2 separate regions of the Homo sapiens genome follow, and region 2 is linked to region 1. Evidence: promoter capture Hi-C in human tissues and cell types (Jung and others, 2019). All regions are on one chromosome and are shown on one strand. Each heading gives the region's core, a stretch centred on a gene start or on the middle of the fragment in contact. The rest is flanking DNA. Distances are from core to core; before and after follow the strand shown. Region 1 holds the start of SPTLC3 (serine palmitoyltransferase long chain base subunit 3). Region 2 overlaps SPTLC3 (serine palmitoyltransferase long chain base subunit 3).

Region 1 (6,532 bases), core at 1,763-4,262:
GTCATCACGTTTACAACCTATTCATGGGGAAATCTATGGAAATGAATGGTCTCTACGATGAGAATTTTTCCAGATTGAACTCTTCGGGAAATTTAAGTACTTCCACGTAGACTTATTAGTAGATATTGACATGTCATTAGTCATTTGTAAAAAAATTTAATATATTGCAAATTTTTAAACATCAAAAAGCAAATAAAGCATTTTTATTCATTATTTGGCCAATCCAATGAAATCTCCCAAATAATAACAGATTCTGTTATTTCTTTTCTTGGTGGTTGATGGTTCTCAAGTCAACAGCTGAAGGAGAGGTGTCATGGTGTAAGGAAAACGGCACTCACTTAGACCCAGACATTCTTGAGTTCATGACCCACTTCTACCACATATTATTCTGTGGCTTTGGAAAAGTCACTTAACCTGTTGAAAATTTAGTTTTGCATGAGCATCACTCTCCATTACATGGGTAAAACTTGAGTCACTGAGAATGAACAGATTTCTGTACACTGTACAATTCTGACAGTTCATTCTGCTCATATCCTCCCATTTTTGCCAACTCTCTATCCCCAAGTTGTTCCAAGAGCGTTTTCACAACACATTGCCAAGCCTCTGTCCTTCCCTTTCTTGCCTATCCTCATTCTGTTATCTCCCTTTTTGGCTGCTTCATTAAGAGAGGAGCTGAGAATCTGGCATCTGGGCAAAACCATTACTTTGGAGAACACCACAAGGCCATTGCTAATTTTATCATCTTTGCCTTTAATGTACTAGTGGGAAGATTTATTTCTACCTTTAATAGTAAGATATCCTAAGTAGAAGGCATGTGGGTACTGCTGAGTCTTAGTTCTGTGAAGGTGGAGACTGTGTATGTTTTATTCCTTGTGAGAACCAAGGACTCAGCAAATACAGAGTACTTATTCAAACATTTTCTGAGGTTACTAGTTGATCCAAAATGTATTTAGTTGTTCAGAGATGCCAAATCTTGCTCAATATTTAGTCTGTGTTTTAGTATTGCTCCAAACCTTAAACCTAAACCTACCACTGACTTCAACAGAACTCTTCGCTTATTTTAACTGGAGATGGTATGAAGCAATGAGTCACCACTGACTATACATACCAGCAGTGCCTGATGCCAAATGGTTGGTGTGTTAATATAATTTTGTACACACAACAATGCACACATTCCAATACGGTAAGTAAAATAGAAAAGTTTCAAGAGTGAGAGCACGTAGTAGATATTTCTCAGAAATCTATGTGTGATTACCTAACCTTAGCAATTGCAATTAGGGGAAGGAAACGGAGAAAGCAGAATTCAGCTGTGTTTTAAGATTTATTTTATATATACCTTTTGTCCCTTGTAAAAAGAAAATTTGAAAAAGAAGAAGAAAAAGAAGAGGAGGGTGGGGGAGGAAAGGGAAAAGGACAAATGTGAAAAGAGGAAAGAGATGGAGAAGAAGAAAAGAAGAAAGAAAAGAGACATCTAATGTTAAAAAAGTTTTATTTCAAAATCTTTATTAAAAAAATGCTTTGCACTGAGCAATAGAGCTCAGGGAAAATAACGCCCTCTCTTCAACTTGTCTTTCTAAGTAACGTGAGGCAGTTGGGCCAACAATAGTGCTCCCCTCTACCTCTTCATCTCTCCATTTCCTAAATCTTAGAAGAAAATAAACCTACAAGAGTTTAGCCCCCAAATCTCAGTGAAACAGCCATGGAAGGGAGAGACCAGTGAAAATCTACTTCTACTTTGATGATAAAGGTTGAGAGAAATGCGATAAAATTTTTGAACTTGAGACACAAACTGGGCTGAACACACTTGGTATTAACTCCGTCTTTCACCTTGGCCTCAGGCCTTATCTTATTCCTCCAGCATTCCTTGGGATGGTAAAGGCAGGTACCCTCATATGCAAGTCATAGTTAGGAGAAGCGTTAGCATGTCCACCTCCAAAAGCTACATTAATCTGGAGTAGAACTGAACCCTGTCCAAGGGAGCTGAGTTACAGGACATGAGGCTCTGGAAACAGGGGCCATTTCTTTCTTTTTGTTTGTGTGTGTGTGTTTGATTGTTTGTTTTTGTCTACTGCCCCAATAAATTGGTTTCTTTTCTTAGAGTCTGATGCTAAAGAAGTCTCGACTCAGGAAAACCACAAGGGTGGACTTGGGAAGACTCAACAGGTTGTAATGACTCTCCAGCAAATCATGTCACCATGCCATTTGATGATGGTAGGAAGAAACAAAGCCTTGAAGATTCATGCATTGAGAGAATAAGAGTTAGTGAGTAAACCAGATGTGTTTCAGGACTGGGACCCTGCAGTCATCAACCACCTCACACCTGCGTCAGTAACAAACCCAAGCTACAGCATGATTTTTGTTCTACCTCAGCAGATATTTTATAGATGGAAAAACTGAGGCATAAAGTGGGTAAATACCTCCCCCAAGGTCACGAGATAAAGATAACGCAGTCATCAAATATTCTGTCTCCTCAACATCTGTCTTACTGGAATTCTTGATGGATTGGTACCCCCTTATTATAGTACTGATTTTAACATAGGTTGGTTTTGAATACTGGGTTTTTAAAAATCTTTTCAAATCATTTGTAAATTATGGAAATGTATACATCACATGAAACTTACCATTTTAATCATTTTTAAGTGCACAGTTTAGTTTAAGTACATTCACATTGTTGTGCACTGATCCATCACTATACCTTTTTCATCTGCTCCAGCTCAAACTCTGTACCCATTAAACAATAACTTCCCTTTGCCTCATCCCTCCAGGCCCTGGCAACCACCTCTGAATGCTATTTTATAGCAAAAAGAAATATTAACTTTTGAGCTTGGTTTACAACCAAAAACCACAATTACATGCAGGAGAGAGGGGGTGGGAAAAAGAGGTTAACTCAGAACTCAGTTACTTAGAAGACTCTGTGAGTGTGCTGTGTGTGTGTGTCTTTAAAAGACTCTCCACCTCCCAGCCCGCCTCCTCACACTTTGCCACTGGGTTGTTCAGTCCCCAGGTTCCCTCAGTCCCCAGAAGGAGCCAGCATGGACAATCTCCTTTACAGTTTCGGAAGCAGGTTTGTTGCCATGGAGTTCACATTTTGACGGGAGTTGAGAAGTATAAAGGTAACCATTTGTTTTAGTTTCAACGATCTGACAAAAAGATAGGCTGTTGCTCTTCTTCTGGAAAAGCCTGATTGGTAAGATTCCTTTAAGGGCTCAGCCCCAAAGAGCTTTATCCCATCCCCTCGCAGACTGAAAACTAAAGCCTGCAGAGACCTCTGAAGGAAAACCTGTCCCGGGCTCTGTCACTTCACACCCATGGCTAACCCTGGAGGTGGTGCTGTTTGCAACGGGAAACTTCACAATCACAAGAAACAGAGCAATGGCTCACAAAGCAGAAACTGCACAAAGAATGGAATAGTGAAGGAAGCCCAGGTAAGAGGCACTCTCCCCTACTCTTCTCTGAATTACCTGAACGTTTCAATATTTCTCTGTGAAGATATTTGAGGCTGTCCTAACTTAGAGTTCATCTTATGAAGGGTTTTTACATGTTTTGACTGTTGACTCTGTTAATAGAAAGTGCTTGGCTACCAAAAAGTTTAGGTGTGGATTAAGGAGAAAATGTCTTCTGTATGCAAAAGAGGATACACACAGACTCACACAGCTTCAGGCTCCCTAAAATACAAATGTACCTACTAGACTTTTGTCTCAAGCATTTTGCGGGGAGGGAAGAATTAAGAAAGTTCCAACTCTTTGCATATATTTTTGTCCAAGAGACCTGCTACAACCGTCATGCTTCAGAAGAAAAAGAGGAAGTGAAAGTACATTTTGCTGACATTATGTGGTGGAGATGGCATTCTTCCCAGGTCCATGAGAAATGCATCACTGTTTGAAAGGCGAGTTATTATTGGTGTGTAGTGGAGCATTGTTTTAGCTCACTACTTGATTTGAGGCCACAGTATTTCTTTGAAATGTGACGTCACAGACATTCTTTTCCAAAACACTTCAGAAAGCAGGGCTGATTGTGACACACTGCTCTCAGAAAACAGAACAGCATCTTTAAAACAAACTTGTATTTTCCAACTTGACACTTTTTTTTTTTTTCACTCTTATTGCACCGGGATGTTTGCAGAGTGTCCTAGGCAGGAGGAACTCGAGGAAAGTTGTCAGCTTGTTTTAAGAGAGAGCCTGGGTCTGTGAGGTCCTTATGTAAGGCAGTTCCCCACTCCCCACAGGACATCCCGTGTCACTCTGCTCTGAGCAGCAGAAGTGAGCTCATCTGCCTGAGGAGCAAGCCCAAGTAGTCAAACAGGTAGCCTCCTGTTTGGAAAGAGAAGTGGCACAGGGAGCCCCATGCAATCTTCCATCATTTGATCATCCAGAGAGCAAGTATCCACCCACAGGAAAGGCAGATTGTTCTAAGATCACAGGACAGGTGGGTCTGGCTGGGGCCAGTCCTCCTCTCAGTGAATTACATTCGTGTGTGCAATTGGAAGAGGCTAAAGGAGCTCTAGAGCCTGAGTTGTGTGTAAACAGGCTGTGGTCCCCAAAAGCATTCCCCTCTTAACAAAAGGCACTGTCCAACGCTGGGAGGTGTCTATCAGAAACCTCAGAACTGGCCTGTCCCACCTGAGGATCTGAAACCTGGAGCAATGTGAAGAGAAGGTGCTCAACTCCTGTCAGTTGTATGAAGGAAATTGCAGTAATATCCACCACTTATGCATCACTAAATATCAATTCAGGCCACTACTCAAGACGATCCTTGCCTCTGGAATGCCTGTAACTCACAAGCTATTCATCTACTTACCCTTGTGATTATTCTGACCCTGAGGGATCTCATCTGGGAAGAGATTCCTTCTTAACTTTTCTCCCTTTTATTTATTTTATCTTGGTTTTATAATCACATTCGAGGTATGAGATTAGAAACTTAGACAGTTATAACCACTCCTAAGTAAGGATAAAACCCAGGATTCTAAAGGTTCATTATGAAGTGCAGCTGCAAGACTGTAAATATCCTTGGACACTGAGGCTTCCCTAAGAACGGTCGAAAACATCAGGGCTGCTGTTGCCTTCCTGAAGGGCCATCCAGAGCCTCTTGTCTCAGACATATTTAGGTGTCACTAAGCTACAATTGGCTTTCATTGAGAGCCTCAATTATGGCTTAAAAAATATTTTTCAGAAAAACAAACGAACAAAAAAAACCCGGCTGAGATCATAGTGTAATAGGGCAAACGAGGGCTTATTGTCCCCTCCATGATGGGAACGAAGTTGTCTTTACTCTCAAGTTCCTTTGCCACCAGTTTTGATCCTTGGGACCCTTTAACAAACTAGGCCTAGACCAAAAGCCTTGCCTGTGGATAGAAGCAGTCTGCAAAGGCTTACAGAATCCTAGGCTGCTGGTCTCCCAAACACGTTCTGCCTGGCCTAACGTCTTCTGCCGCAGCATCTAAGATCCTACCAGCCCCTCCAATGATCCTCCCACCCTTTCTCTTCCCACTTATTTGCAACCACACAGCAACACAGTTATCTCTTTTATACATTAGGGGACCCTACAAGATTCTGTTGACAAAGGGTTCCCTGGCATAACAAACATATGAAAATTACTATTAGGCGGTGCTCATGAGTCCTCCTTCCCCCTGGTCCAGCGTAGGCTGCCATCCCTGCTCCAGCCTGCAGCAGGCTTGCTGCCCCAGTCTCAAGGCTGGCAAGGACCAGAGCCTTTCCATTCTTAGAAACCTTCTAGAGTTCCTTTCTGGAGCTTTTATGGAGCCTGACTATTTTTCCTGTTTTTTTTTTTTCTTTAAACCTCATATGTCCTGAGAATGCACAAAAACTGGTTTTCATCACTGACTAAGTCCATTTATTTGTTTATTCCCAACATGGCCTCCTACCTTTTACTTGTAACAGGACACTATCATACTAGAGGATTTGTTCTCCCTCTTCATGAGCATATCCACACTACAGACAGATGGGTGCTTAAAGTCTTAATCTATAAACTTGATATTTCTTATAATTTTTATTGAATTAAAATTCTTCCTAATGAATAGGAATTTCCTATTCCTTACTTAATTCTATATAATTACTTTGCAACTATTATCCACATAATTGCTTTTTAATTCCCAGCAATTATTTTTGACCTGACCATAAACTTTTATTTGGAAAACCAAAACCTAGGAAGGTAGACCTTGTGTCTCCATTGCATTTTCCCAGAAGTAGTTTCTTAAGAGGATAGAGTCTGCATTTTCTTCTCTTAAACGAAACCTGCAGGATGAAAAAAAAATTGTAAAGTTTTCCTAATCATCCCTTTCCTGGAAAACAAAAATGTTTGGGGATTAGAGTTACTCTAATTCAAGGTTTATTGAGTTCTTGACCTGAATGTTGTAATATTACCAGGTATAGGTTATGAGCCCTAACAGGTGGTTGCTTTTTTTTCACCAATACTTATTAAGCATCTGTTATTCTTAGGACCTATAAAGATAAATAAGAAGTTTACAATTTATCTGTTAGGAGAAAGCTTATATCAACATTAAAATAATCACATC
Region 2 (6,237 bases), core at 696-3,195, 35 kb after region 1:
GAGTGCAGACTTCAGCATGTCATTGAAGTGACAGTGGTTTTAGGAAGCTTCTATATGACTGTGCCTTCCCAAATCATTCTGTAAAGCTATCTTCCTCTGTTGGTATCACTCCCAACTGTGAGTCTCCACTCCACTACTTGCTGCCGGATTGCTCTATTGGTTTTGACAGTGCCCTGCGGCATAAATTGCTTCACAATCTAATCCAATTAAATTCATGATCCTTGGTATGTTTAGCCTTTGAGGTTTATTCTGATCTTAAGAGGGCTCTTCATAGCTATCAATTTCCCTGATTCTCTCTGGCTGAACTACCTACATGAAGATTAGCTTGTTGCTTTTACCGAGTTACCAGTCTCTTCTAAAGTGCTTGCCACCAGAATCTCCACTGTTTTCCAGAGCACCCTTTAATCTTGAACTTCCCTACTCTTTGTGCCAAATAAAATAAGTTATCTTGGGGAATGCTCTGGAGCTCTCTCTCCCACTGGGCAAAGCCAATGAATCACTGCTTCAGAGCTAGGGAAAGGATAGTAGCTCTAGGTGGGGCAATACCTTCTGGTTTTCTTGGCTTTCCTCTTCCACCATGGAACCTCTATCCTGCTAGTGTGCTGGAGTAAGGGTAATTGGGGCCCCAGTATTCTCAGCATGCCATGTCTGATATAGAGTCTCTACCCTACCAGTGGGTGTTCATTAGAGGAAGTAAACCCTCAACCTCTCAGCCACACTTGCACAGAATTTAGCCTCTGCAAAACAGAACTGAGAGTGATAAGAAATGATGGTAGCTTGCCCCTCTCAAAGAAATACCATAACCCTTGCCTGAAGCAGGGGACAGGAAGCCTCATCTTGGCCACCTGCTCAAAGTAGAATGTTTCTACTTGCTGAACTGGGAGACAAAGGGAGAGAATAGGTCATGGCTCAATGCCACAGACTCTCAGTGTTCTTTTTTGATATTTAGTGTATTTCCTTCAATAAATATTTCTTCATTTGTTATATGCCCTTAAGACAATGTCCAAATACTTTAAAAAGTTATATTTTTATAATTTTTACCAGTTATGCTTTATTTCTACTGTGAAGATGATCTCTGAGGCTCTTTATGCCACCAGCAGGGAAATAGTCTACCTTCCATAGATTTTTAACCAGGCTCCTATGTTTGAACACCATATAATGTTTAAAGTAAATCTCTTATTCTATAACACTCACAGTGGTTCTGTTTCCCTACGCAAAACCTAACTGCTACAATGTAGGCAGAGACTTATTCTTAAACACCAGTATCCTTGGAAGTTTGTGTTCTCCCTCAGAGAAGGATCTATGCCAATCTTGATCATGATGTGGAAAACCCCAAATACGTTCCATTTCAGAAAGGAACATGGCCCTCTCGTTAGCTCCAGTGCTCTAGATTTCCTTTGCCATTTCATCCTCCCTGAGCCAATCTTATCCCCAACCTTCCTGCCCTTGTAGATCAACTAAGGCCTGAAAGCCTCCTCTTCCTCCTCATTCTCACCCTGACTTTTCTTTTCAAGGACTAACCTAGCAGTGTAATGGAATGTGTCATGTTGCATGGGCTGCCTCACTCTGAAAACAAAAGTCTGTTTGTGAATGGATGGTGAATTGGCAGCATTAAGTTGGTTTTAGATTTGCTCATCCTTTTGTATCATACCCTAAAAAGCTAGAGCACAAGAAGTGACTGCATCACACATTTTTCAAAGTGCTACTGAGATAGTCTGCGTCCCTGTGGCCAGGACAGTCACATGTGCTCTTCATCCTGTCTCCCTCAAGGGGTCGTGTTCCAGGAATTATACTGTCTCTTACCTTTATCTACAATTATGCTTAATCTATTAAATATTTTTCTAAGCTCCTATATACACTCAGTCTTTATTGCAAAATAAGCAACTCCCCTCACTATTAGTAACCGAAGTCACCACCTTCTCTCTGTCCTCTTCCCTACCACTATACTTCTTTAATAAGTCATCTCAGCTCCCTGTCCCATTGCCTTCACATTCTCTCTCTCCTTAAGTCCCTGCAGTCTGATAAAATTGCAGGGATAACAGGTTGATAAGATTACTTACTCAAGTTTTCTTGTGAGAGTCCCCATATACAATGGTCTTGTTGAACTTCTATATCTCAACTTAGTGTCACTCTTCAGTCCCTCACCTCTTCCTCCCTCTCCCACTTGCTGTCTCCTTAGAGGACCCTCATTCTCCCTCTTCTCCCTAGGTATTGATACATTATATTCTTTTGTCTTGTTTCTTTTTTTTCTTTTTTTTTTTTTGAGATGGAGTCTTGCTCTGTCACCCAGACTGGAGTGCAGTGATGCAATCTTGGCTCACTTCAACCTCTGCCTCCTGGGTTCAAGCAATTCCCCCTGCCTCAGCCTCCTGAGTAGCTGGGATTACAGGTGCCTGCCACCACACCTGGCTAATTTTTGTATTTTTTAGTAGAGACAGAGTTTCACCATGTTGGCCAGGCTGGTCTTGAACTCCTGACCTCAGGTGATCCACCCACCTCGGCCTCCCAAAGTGCTGGGATTACAGGCATGAGCCACAGCGCCCAGCTGATACATTATATTCTTGATCAATATATCCTAGGTCAATGTATATCCTTGGTCTCCTGTCTTTCTTCGTGAGACTCTCAGTCCCTTTTGCTAGAGTCTGGACAAATCCAGCAAGGAAGCCATATATATCCTTGGTCAATATATATGACCGAGAGAAAATATTGTCTTTCTCTTTTTTCTCAAATATGTCTCTAAAAGCAGCATTATCCATTCTAATAGTTTTCATCTATCATCTCTATTCAGAATATTTAACAAAAATCGTAACATTTAATGAGTTTTTGTATTGTAGCAGGTAACCTGCATATACTATCTCACTTAATTTTCAAAAGTGACCTTTACTAGCCCCACTTAGCACTGGAGACATTTGAGGCCTCGAAAAATTAAGTGACTTTCACAAGGTCACACAGGCAGCAAAGGAAAGTCTGACCCCTGAGCAAATCATCTTCATTGTTATGCTCGACAACCCAGCAACACCAGACTCCAGTTCAACCTCCTCAAGAATCACTCCTGATCACCCAGTGTGATGTGGTCCCTTCATTTGCATCATCCTTTGACATTCACATTTTGCTCTACATTATGGTCATTTGTGTCCCCACCACACACACACACACACACACACACACACACACACACACACCCTACTGCACTATCAATTCTGGGGAAAACATACTGTATTTATTGATTTCATATCTCCTCTAATGTTAGCCTAGGACAGCCAGTAAAAGAGCTACCTATTGAACAGAAGAGTAATTGTCTGTAAAGGGCTCCCTGCATATTCCAGCACCCAGTTTATTTCCAGATATGACAGAAGCGCAGGAAGTAAACAAACCCCAGGATGTCACATCATCCCAAACGACTAGATACTGTAGGCAATGTGGCTCAGGGTCTGTTTATTTTTAAGGCTGCGAAAGAAAAGGTAGAACAAGCCAAAGTGTATTACAAATAACAATGCTTATCTGCAGTAATAACAAGTGCTTAATAAATGCAAACTTATTAAGCAAGATTTTATGCTTCATTTACTTTGATAGGATGAAATTTTATATTTCAAAATAACTATCCAACAACAGATTGAGGAATTCCTCCTGGGAGGTGTGACTGACTTCAATTATAAGTAAAAGAATATAGTAAGTGAGTCACTAGCTATCTCTTAAGGAGACCAATACATTTCCAGATAGCTTTTTTCTCTGTGAAGATATCTCATTTTTCCTCTGCCAAATAAAATTAATTAAGTGACATTAAATTTAAAATGTATCTATTTATATGAGAGGAAAATAGATCCTGGTTTGGGCTGATGGACATTTTTGAAATTTTCTCCTTTGTGTTATTACTTGCTTCCAGAACAAGTCACAGGGGCAAGTAAATAGTTACATATAGGCCCAGTCTGTGCAACCAACTGAGGGTTTTATTTGCATCTAGGTAGACCATCTGTGATGTACAGTGCAGGGTTGCCTCAGAGCCAATTCAAGCAGAAACTGCCTATGGATTTCAAGAGAAAAGCACCACTTGATTTGGTTACAGGTGAAGCTCAGAAATGAAGATGGGGCCAGGAAAGGAAGAAGAGAAAACCTGCTGATTGCCATGGGTTGGACTTGAATGTCCTCACATTTTCTGTCTTTATGTACACCCACATAACTTAGCCATTCTCTAAGTCAGCCAAAGGGGTTAATTTGCAAGCAGGTTAAATTAAGGTTCTGAGGTCACCCACACTGGGTTCCCTTTATTCACCCTTTTTCTTCTGTGGTACCGGAAAAAGCACTGTATCCACAAATTCTGTCCCAAGCCTACTGCTCTTCCCTCTTTATGATTTGTACCTTATCGCATTCACCTTCAACCATGACTTAAACTGTGGCCCGTAGTAATTGACTCAGTCAGGGTCTTCCTTTTCTCCTACATTCCTCAGTGCTCTGGGAATTTATGCAGGCAATCACCACCCCCAAATTAGCATGTTCTGTACAGACTCATGTCTTCTCTCCAAAAAGCAGCCCTCCTTCCAAGTCCTTCTTTCTTCTTATCAACAATACTATACTGCTCCTTGCAGATAGTTTTCTTTTTCCTCTTCCTTGACTTCATATCTAATCAGTAGAAGTTCCAACATGTCTTCCTTCATGAGACTCTGAGTCCCTTTTGCTAGAGTCTGGACAAATCCAGCAAGGAAGCCAATTTTGTGTCCCTGTGATGCAGAAGGATGTGGGAGGTGGGTCTTAACTGGGCCAGGAAGTCACCTGGAATTGTGGAGATCGATGTAGTCTAAAGTTCAAGTGCAGAACAGAGCCAAGGAAAGGAGCCAAAGGTTTGTACTAAAATAGCATAGCAAGATCAGCCATCCATCAGACCTACATGACTGGGGTAAGGACATAGTTAGAGGGAGGAGTAGGAATGGGGTCTGTCTTGTTCATCTTTGAATCCCCAGTGCTGAACATGTTGCTTGCTCAGGGAAGGCATGCAACAAATGCCCTATATACAAGCCAAGAGTATAACCTTTCATTTACCTTTTACTCAAGACTGCCTATTAACCAATGCTCTTTCATTTTCATTAGCTTATGCCATGAAGTAGTGTTTGGGATGACACACTAGACAGGAATATCCACCTATGTTAGTTTGGGGTACCTATAGAAGTAACCTGAAATAATAAATAAATAAGGAGGCAAGCCATTTTAATAATATTTTGTGATGTTTTGACTTAAGAATTCAAATTTTAGATATCACTATAAAAAGGCTTTTAAAATTTCTTTAAGAATAATAATGTAGAGATTTAAAATATTCATCTACCAGACTGATTTGCTTTTCATCTATTTTTGTGGCTTGGGATAAAACTTCCAGTGACTAAATCACAGAGATTCCAAAAATTCTGCTTCTCATATAATGTAGAGGGAATGAAGATAATATGCTCTGGAAAACTGTGTTGATTACAATGACAAAGACTAGGAGAATCGTCAAAACAGTATTTCAAATGTACACGATTTAATATCATAAATCATTCTAAATACATCTAAATACATATATATGTATAAGCTAAATTAGTACCTTAAATATTAGTAGAGATCTGACAATTTTTGTAAATCACTAAAAGTTATGTATTCCAAGTATTCAAAACATTTTTTGTGTGTCATCTCTTTAAGAAATGGGAAATCTGCAGATTGATTTGTATTTATTGAATGAAATAATAAATGAATGTATAAATATTTATTAAGGACTAAAACAATTAAATATTAGCATTAGAGATACGTATTTACTAATCAATTGAGCAGATGTTGTTTGAGCTACTCTGTGCAAATCAATTAAACAGTCATCAGAATGGTTTGGTGTTAAAAGTCCACTTTCTACTGAAAAGTGAAATAAAACAGAAAATTTTTTAAACTTTTTACTATGAAAAATTTCAGACATACAGAAGAGTAGAAAAAAATAATATCATGAACACCTATATACTCTCCATCCAGATTCAAGAGTTAACGTTTCTCAAAGTTGCTTTATGTTTTTATGCAATTTTGACAAACCACCTTAAAGAGAACTACAGCTATTATAATGCTTTGCCCCTTAATACTTCAGCATGCATCACAAAGATTAAAACATTATGTGATGTAACTAAAAATATCTCTATCTTTCCTACTACAATTAATAATTCTTTAATAAGAATTTAATAAGAATAACAGGCTTTAACTGACAAAGATCAAAAAAGACAAAGAAGGGCATTA

Evidence for each region. The method cuts DNA at HindIII sites, captures the fragments that hold promoters and counts their contacts. A contact is called where the count stands out against the background at its distance.
Region 2: a fragment that was not itself captured here is called in contact with the fragment with the promoter of SPTLC3 in region 1 in 1 of the 25 tissues and cell types used here (spleen).

What each region holds. Positions count from the first base shown.
Region 1 is chr20:13,005,960-13,012,491 of GRCh38, forward strand. SPTLC3 (serine palmitoyltransferase long chain base subunit 3) reads left to right here and starts at 3,013. Exons shown (of 12, transcript NM_018327.4): 1 at 3,013-3,425. The coding sequence starts at 3,309. The HindIII fragment of the contact is 14,727 bases long and covers 1-6,532 here.
Region 2 is chr20:13,041,855-13,048,091 of GRCh38, forward strand. The region is part of intron 1 of SPTLC3 (serine palmitoyltransferase long chain base subunit 3); the gene reads left to right. Among named protein-coding and RNA genes, the nearest start is that of SPTLC3, 36 kb to the left of the region's middle. The HindIII fragment of the contact is 7,484 bases long and covers 1-5,687 here.